Linked DNA regions of Homo sapiens: region 2 is linked to region 1. The links are contacts of gene promoters, found by promoter capture Hi-C in blood cells and fetal thymus (Javierre and others, 2016). All regions are on one chromosome and are shown on one strand. Each heading gives the region's core, a stretch centred on a gene start or on the middle of the fragment in contact. The rest is flanking DNA. Distances are from core to core; before and after follow the strand shown.

Evidence for each region. Contacts are between HindIII fragments. The CHiCAGO score rates a contact against its expected background, and 5 or more counts as called.
Region 2: a fragment that was not itself captured here is called in contact with the fragment with the promoter of GLYR1 in region 1 in 4 of 17 cell types (erythroblasts, M2 macrophages, M1 macrophages and 1 more); the score reaches 9.0 in erythroblasts.

Annotation. Positions count from the first base shown.
Region 1 is chr16:4,845,416-4,849,338 of GRCh38, forward strand. It overlaps GLYR1 (glyoxylate reductase 1 homolog), which reads right to left and starts at 1,873. Exons shown (of 16, transcript NM_032569.4): 1 at 1,813-1,873; 2 at 759-795. The coding sequence starts at 1,850. UBN1 (ubinuclein 1) reads left to right here and starts at 2,066. Exons shown (of 18, transcript NM_001079514.3): 1 at 2,066-2,795. RefSeq lists enhancers at 1,317-1,376, 1,677-1,736, 2,032-2,874 and silencers at 1,927-2,646, 2,657-2,746. The HindIII fragment of the contact is 6,120 bases long and covers 916-3,923 here.
Region 2 is chr16:4,443,018-4,446,867 of GRCh38, forward strand. It overlaps DNAJA3 (DnaJ heat shock protein family (Hsp40) member A3), which reads left to right. Exons shown (of 12, transcript NM_005147.6): 6 at 1-147; 7 at 1,647-1,711. Among named protein-coding and RNA genes, the nearest start is that of DNAJA3, 19 kb to the left of the region's middle. The HindIII fragment of the contact is 654 bases long and covers 1,795-2,448 here.

The sequences.
Region 1 (3,923 bases), core at 623-3,122:
CACAATATCCCTTTTACTGCAGTGGCCCTGTTTTACAAGCAGTTAAAACTAAGATCAACAGCATCCCCTGCCCCCCACCACCCCACCCCTGCTCCAATGTGACCCCATTATTACTGAAAAAATGCAGACGACACTCTTTGAAATACTTCCTGTGCAGGAAGGGTTGACACAGGACATAGTGAAAACAAAGGACAACCGAGGCACAGAAAACACCATATTGCAAAGAGACCATCTAAAGACACCTCCCGGGCTCCAAGCAAGAATATAAAAACACAACATTTGGAAAGCAATGATGGATCACCTCATGCAAAATCTGGAATGCCAACTTCTGCAAAGAGGCACTGGAGTAGCACATATGGTAACATGGAAAGAAGATTTAAACTTAGTTGGGACAAAAATACTTTGGCTTTTCACTAACCTACATTTAGACTTTCTTCCTGGATAATTTATATTTTCTTCTCCTTTTGTTACATTTAAGCATAAAGCTAAATTCAGACTAGAATTATTTCCGGGGTTAAAAAAGAAACTTCATAAACCTCCTCTAAATCCAGAAATAAGGGTTTAGAGAAGATTTAATGATCTGGTGTATACTGCATTGCCTTTTAAAAAATAACCGATACTAGGGGAAAAAAAATTCTAAGTGCCATCTGAATGAGCCCAATTTAACTCAATACTAGAAACTGAGAGGAATGCATCTTACATTCTCCACCTCTTCAAACCCAACTTCAGATCTCTTCCTTTAGTAGCAAGACACTCACCTTTCCTGGCCAAGGAGGATATCGGCCGAGTTTCCCCCTAGAGAAAACACAAAGAGTCAACACTTGCCCTGCAAAAGCCAGTCCATCTCCTTCAACCCACTCAATACGCAATTTATTTTCCTAAATCTCTGCTGGCATCCTCAAATGCCGAAACAAAAGCTTTCATAGCTGGGCCCAACACCCTCAGAAGTAAAATGCAAAATTGTATACTTATGTGCACAACGCATATCCATTCTTCTGTTGACAAGGAATACAGAACAACACAACTGTCAAAAGTCACTTGTCTAGAGCTTCTTAATGACGGGGGTGGGAGGACAGCTTCCTCTGTAAACACAGACTTTCCCTCCCTAAGTCTGGTTTAATTCAACAGGAGACCTGCCTGGCTTTGACAAATGCTAATGGAAGCCTTCCTCTGGGTGGAGAAACAAGCTACGCAGCTCGAGGGAGGCGGCGACAAAGTCTTGGTTCGGGCGGTTGTCTGGGACACAGAAGCAGACCGCGGGAGGCACCCAAGCGTGCACTGGTCACTGCCAAGCCATCGGTTGTAAAGGAGAAGTCCCCCCGCCGTTTCTTCGCGGGGCAACGCCAGCAGTCCGGTTTAGACAACCCCGGCTGAGCCGGCCGCACAGGTCGGCTGCATCGCAACCTGGGCTTTGACCGAATGGCACCGGCCAGATCTCGCAGGTCCGGTCCCCGGCGCTTCTGCTTTCTGGGAAGCCCCAACAAGACCCCGGGGACCGGTCGTCCGGGGAAGCCTCGCGGCACCGGCGGCTCCCTTCACGGGGGCCGCCAGTATCTGGGCCCCGAGTGCAGACCCCACCCGGCCGGCCTCGGGGATCAAAGCCGGTGCCCGACGTGGCCACCCTCGGCCTCGGTCCCCCGGGACTGGACTGCCCCTTCCGCCTGGCGCCGCTCGCAAGCGCCGGCACCTTCTCTTCCCCTCTCTCCGCGACCTGGAGCGCATAAAAAGGCAGCTCCAGGGCCGGCAGCGAACCCCGCGCCCAGGCGGGTAGCTCCCCGGCGCGTCTCGGTTGGCCCGGCCGCTCGGACTCACCACACCAAGTCGCCGAGCCGCAGACTCACAGCCGCCATCTTACCACCCAACCACCGCCGACGCACGGGCCGCCGGGAACAGCAAGTCGCCCCGGCGCCGCCCATTGGAGTGGGCCCGACCACGTGACGGGGGCCGGCTGTCACTGGCCACGCCGCTACTCTGACGTCACCGCGCCCGCCGGGGATCATTGGTCGACCGAGGGGCACGTGACGCGAGCGCCGCGGTCTCCGCGCGCCGGAGCGCAGAGACTCCCGGCTCCTTCCCCCTCCCTTCGGCTCGTGACAACGAAGCGCCCGCGGTCTGAGGCGGCGGCGGCGGCGACGGTGCGACCGGCTGAGCGCGAGAGGGAGCCGGCCTCGCGGCTCGCCCCGCCCCCGGGTCTTGGACTCCGCGCCCCTCCCCTCTCGGCGCTTCCGTTACGCCCGTTGGTCCGGCGCGGGCCCCGGGGCCATTCCCGAGCCCGAGGCGCTGGTCGGCCCCGTCGCAGCGCCAGTGAGCTACCCTGACGGAGCTCGGCGCGGCCTGGAACTCAGCCTCCGCCGGGTCTGGGCTCCCGCGCCCGGCAACTCTGCTTGGCCGCAGGCCGGGAGGCCCCGGTGTCCGCGCCCGTCCGCTCCCGCCGCCCGTGTTCTTTGGAGCGCTCCTCCCGACGGCCGCTTTCGGAGGCGCCGTCTGAGCGCGGGGTCCCGCGCCGCAAGTTCTCCTGGGGCGACCGGAGGCTGCTCCCCCGACCCCCTGGTGTCCCCGGAGTGGCTGCGCGGACGTCGAGTTGGCATTTCTTCGCTTCCTCCTGGGCCGGCGCGCGGCGCGGCACACCAGGCTCCCCTGGGCTCGGGGACCCGGCCATGGGCCGAGGCGCGGGCCGCCCGCCCGCTGGGAGCCACGGCTTAGCAGCCGACCGCTAGCTGCGCCGCCGCCCGGGGACCGGCATGAGGACCGCCGCGGGGGGACGTCTGCGGCCCGCGTCGGCGCTGGGGACAAAGGTGCGTGTCGTTGTCGGGTCCGGGCTCTCTCGTTAGCCTTGCCCTAGTTTTGCACTTTTGAAAAAGTTGTGACAACAGGAAGACAGATGCCGGGCGTAGTTTGGACACTTTAAAACTGAACCATGAACTGGGAAGTGTTAACTGCAGTTGAGCGCAGCGTCGGCCCAAACTTCAGCAGACCAGGTAGAATCACAATTTTGCAAAAGATCCCAGTCCCGATCACAGACTCCACAGTGTTAAGGATTGACTTAGACTTGGTGTCGGGCTCTTGTTGAGTCACTGCCAGCTGGCAAAGGTGGCGAGTCGACACGCATTTCCCCAAGGCATTGTGGTGGTTAGAGATTTCGGTTGCAAGTCGGTGTTTAGCGTACTGGGTCGTCCCGCAGCCTGATTTTTCTTGGGAGATCAGTTTCCCTGAAGTACCAAGAATTAGCTGCACGGACTGTCATTTACTGCGTGTGTATTTTTAAGACAAAGTGATCTTTAAAGCGTATTTAAGATTCCAGGGAATAATTTGATAAAAATTTAACATAAGTTCCTGTTTAAAAATTCTGAATTTGTGAGGAATTGAATGAGATTTTAATAACTTAAATAAAAACATGAATCTTGGCCGGGCAGGGTGGTATAAGCCTGTAATCCCAGCATTTTGGGATGCCGAGGCGGGTGGACCACCTGAGATCAGGAGTTCGAGACCAGCCTGGCCAACACGGTCAAACCCAGTACTCTACTAAAAATACAAAATTAGCCGGGCGTGGTGGCGCATGCCTGTAGTCCCAGCTACTTGGGAGGCTGAGGCAGGAGAATCGCTTAACCCGGGAAGCGGAGGTTGCCGTGAGCCGAGATTATGTCACTGCACTCCAGCTAGGCGACAGAGCGAGCGAGACTCGTCCCCCCGCCAAAAAGAAAAAAGAAAAAAAAATCTCAAATGAACATTGCACCAAAACCTAGAGGCATTCCCCTTAACATCAGAAACATGGTACATTTCTACCACTATTAGATAATAAGAATATATTGCCTAAAACCTGAAAGTTCTAGCCAGTGCAGTAAGACAGGAAACAAAAATAAGAAATGCAATTTTTGGAAAAGGGAAGACAGAATTCTCATTTCCGTGGATGATAGGTCTGCCTA
Region 2 (3,850 bases), core at 872-3,371, 400 kb before region 1:
AAACCATCAACACAGGCCCTTTTGTGATGCGTTCCACGTGTAGGAGATGTGGTGGCCGCGGCTCCATCATCATATCGCCCTGTGTGGTCTGCAGGGGAGCAGGACAAGCCAAGCAGAAAAAGCGAGTGATGATCCCTGTGCCTGCAGGTGGGTGCTTGGGCCCGCCATGTCCAGGAGCTTGGAGAGGGCAGACAGGGTTGAGGCTACCACACCGTGTGGAGAGGGTGGACAGGGCCGAGGCCACTGCACTGAGTGTGAGTGGGCTCTTGGTAGAAGTTATGGTTGAGGCCCTGGAGCCCCAGGCTGGAGGAGGAACTGGAGTCTCCTTGAATCTTTCTGTTTCTGCCAGTTATCCTTAAAATTTACACTTTGCATGTCACAATGGGGAGAAGAGACCTGACGTGCCTACTCTGCTTCTTCCTGGTGAGGGAGCAGCTTCCAACCCCCGGGCTCCTCTCCTCTCTCCCCTGTCTTAGTCACCGAAGCCATCATTGTCCCTGCTGCCACCCTATCTACATCAGCCCCACGGATCCCACCCCTCACTCCATGTCTACTGTTCCCTTGCCCAAAACTCACTTTCTGCTTTCTTTTTTCGGTTAACTTTATTCATCTTGGAGATCCCAGCTTGAGTATCCCTTCCCTAGCTAGCCTCACACCCTCCTCCCTGTTCTTTTTTTTTTCTTTTTTGAGACGGAGTCTCGCTCTGTCACCCAGGCTGGAGCGCAGTGGCCCGATCTCGGCCCACTGCAAGCTCTGCCTCCCAGGCTCATGCCATTCTCCTGCCTCAGCCTCCCAAGGAGCTGGGACTACAGGCACCTGCCACCACACCCAGCTAATTTTTTGTATTTTTAGTAGAGACGGGGTTTCATCGTGTTAGCCAGGATGGTCTCGATCTCCTGACCTCGTGATCCACCCGCCTCGGCTTCCCAAAGTGCTGAGATTATAGTCATGAGCCACCGCGCGTGGCCTGCTTTACTGTTGTTTAGATGTCTGTTTCTCTAGAGTTGTGAGCATTTCCATTGAAGAGCATGTCTCTGTTTGTAGTTATGCATTAGTGCTATCGTTTGGTTAACACCCATCACCCCAGTGAGACCATGAACTCCCTGAGGTACTGCCTAGACCAAGCCTGAGGCAGGTGCTCAGTCATCAGGTGTCTGTGTTGCATCTCTGGAAGGTTACCCATGTGCCTCTTAGATAATGACATTGTTCCTCGTTAATAAGAAACAGGAGTGGGGAAGAAGCTGTGGGTTACAAGTGGATCTTGGGTGGAAAGTGCTGTGGGAGGTCTCACAATAACTGCTCCCTTTCTTTTTTTTCTTTTTCTTTTCTTTTTTTTTTTTTTTTTAAGACGGAGTCTCGCTCTGTTGCCAGGCTGGCGTGTAGTGGAGTGATCTCGGCTCACTGCAACCTCCGCCTCCTGGGTTCAAGCGATTCTCTTTCCTCAGCCTCCTGAGTAGCTGGGACTACAGGCGTGTGCCACCACGCCCAGTTAATTTTTAGTAGAGACCAGGTTTCACCATGTTGGCCAGGATGGTCTCGATCTCTTGACGTCATGATCTGCCCGCCTCGGCCTCCCAAAGTGCTGGGATTACAGGCGTGAGCCACCGCGTCCTGCCTAACTTCTCCCTTTCTAATGTCCCTTGTAGGAGTCGAGGATGGCCAGACCGTGAGGATGCCTGTGGGAAAAAGGGAAATTTTCATTACGTTCAGGGTAGGTGCCCTGCCCCGCACAGCTTCTGTTGGGCCTTTCCTCTCTTCGGGTGGGTGTGGCTGAGGCTGCTCCCATGTAATCAAAGCTTCACAGGAACATGTCTCGCCATTCATGTTTCTGAGGGGCACAGTGGCCACCTAGATGTGGTTTTTAGCTGTTTGTTACCTTCAAGATTCTGTGCCTTGTGTGGAGAGAAGACAACTTCTTCAACATGCTAACAAGTTAGAAATACAGGTCACATAAAAATACAGGAAACATCTTGTGTTTTTATGATAAGATTGTTGATGAGGCAGTGAGTGTGAAAGTTACAATTTTACATACTGTATACAGGGGCAAACCTTGGTTTTCTGAGATGGTGGAAACATTAATGAAGACAATGCCTTCTACTGGCAATTGCCCTCCTATGTGTACACCTGAGAAAAACCCACACAAGCCTAGCAGGCGATAGGTACAAAGGGGTGCACAAGAGTCCTGTCCATGGTAGCAAGACACTGCCTTCCTCCAACAAGAGAATGGCTCAGTGAGCCGTGGTGGTCAGAGGCTGCTGCAGGGCAGTCGGAAGGAAAGAATGAGAGCTGAACTCAAGGGATGCTCCAGGCGTTGCAGGTACAGACAGCAGGGATGGAAGGCAGCTTGCCAGTGGCTGTAGGGCCTCAGAGACCATCTGTGTAAAGTTTTAAAACCTGTGAGATGGCATTATGTATTATTTAGGGACACGGAAATACATAGTAAGTAGAAGCTTGTAGGAATGATAAATGTTAAAGTCAGGGTTGTGGTTAGCTGAGGAGGGCAAGACTCACCGGTGTTTATGATGTTTTATTTTATTTTACTTTATTTTTTGAGGTGGGGTATTGCTTTGTTGCCTAGGATGAAATGCAGTGGGGCAGTCTTGGCTCACTGTAGCCTCAGACTCCCTGGGCTCAGGTGATCCTCCCACCTCAGCCTCCTGAGTAGCTGGGACTACAGGCACACGCCACCAGGCCCGGCTGACTTTTGTATCTTTAGTAAAGATGAGGTTTCACCATGTTGCCCAGGGTGGTCTCAAACCCCAGGGCTCAAATGATCCACCCACCTTGGCCTCCCAAAGTGCTGGGATTACAGGTATGAGCCACTGCGCCCGGCCTGTGATATTTTGTTACCTCCACTGGGTTGTGGGTATGACATGCTTGTTATATTATTTACTCTTCCCTTTTTTTTCTTTTTTTTTTCTGGAAAGAGAGTCTTGCTCTGTTGCCCAGTCTGGAGTGCAGTGGCATGATCTCAGCTCACTGCAACCTCCACCTCCCAGGTTCAAGCGATTCTCTTGCCTCAGCCTCCTGAGTAGCTGGGACTACAGGCATGCGCCACTACACCCAGGTAATTTTTGTATTTTTAGTAGAGATGGGGTTTCACCATGTTGGCAGGCTGGTCTCGAATTCCTGACCTCAGGTGATCCACCCACCTTAGCCTTCCAAAGTGCTGGGATTACAAGCGTGAGCCACCACGGCTGGCCTATACTTTCTAATAAAGTAAGATTTTTTTTTTTTTTTTTTTGAGGTGGAGTCTCGCTCTGTTGCTCAGGCTGGAGTGCAGTGGTGTGATCTCTGTTCAGTGCAAACTTCATCTCCCAGGTTCAAGTGGATCTTCTGCCTCAGCCTCCTGAGTAGCTGGGATTACAGGGGCCCGCCACCACACCTGGTTAATTTTTGTATTTTTAGTAGAGACAAGGTTTCACCATGTTGGTCAGTCTGGTCTCAAACTCCTGACCTCAGGTGATCCACTCACCTTGGCCTCCCAAAGTGCTGGGATTACAGGTGTGTGCCACTGTGCCTGGCTAAAGTAAGATTAAAAAAAAAAAATCAAAAGCCAGTTTTACATTTTTGTTTCCCTTCACGATTGAATGGCTTGATCTGAGACTGAGGAAATCCAGGCACGCTTCCATTTCGGCATTTCAAGTGTGTAGAACATTGCAGTGTTGAAATATGTAGAACATGTCATTCCTGGGCCTGGGATGGTGTCTCCTTGTTGGAAGGACAGTTCTTTCCCTCAACACTGCACTTTATGTATGGAAGGGGTGTGTAGTTTGTCAGGTCTGAGCTTGGGCCTGGCCAGGCATGCAGCTGGTGTTTAGTCTGCAGTGGACTTATCTTCACATGCATC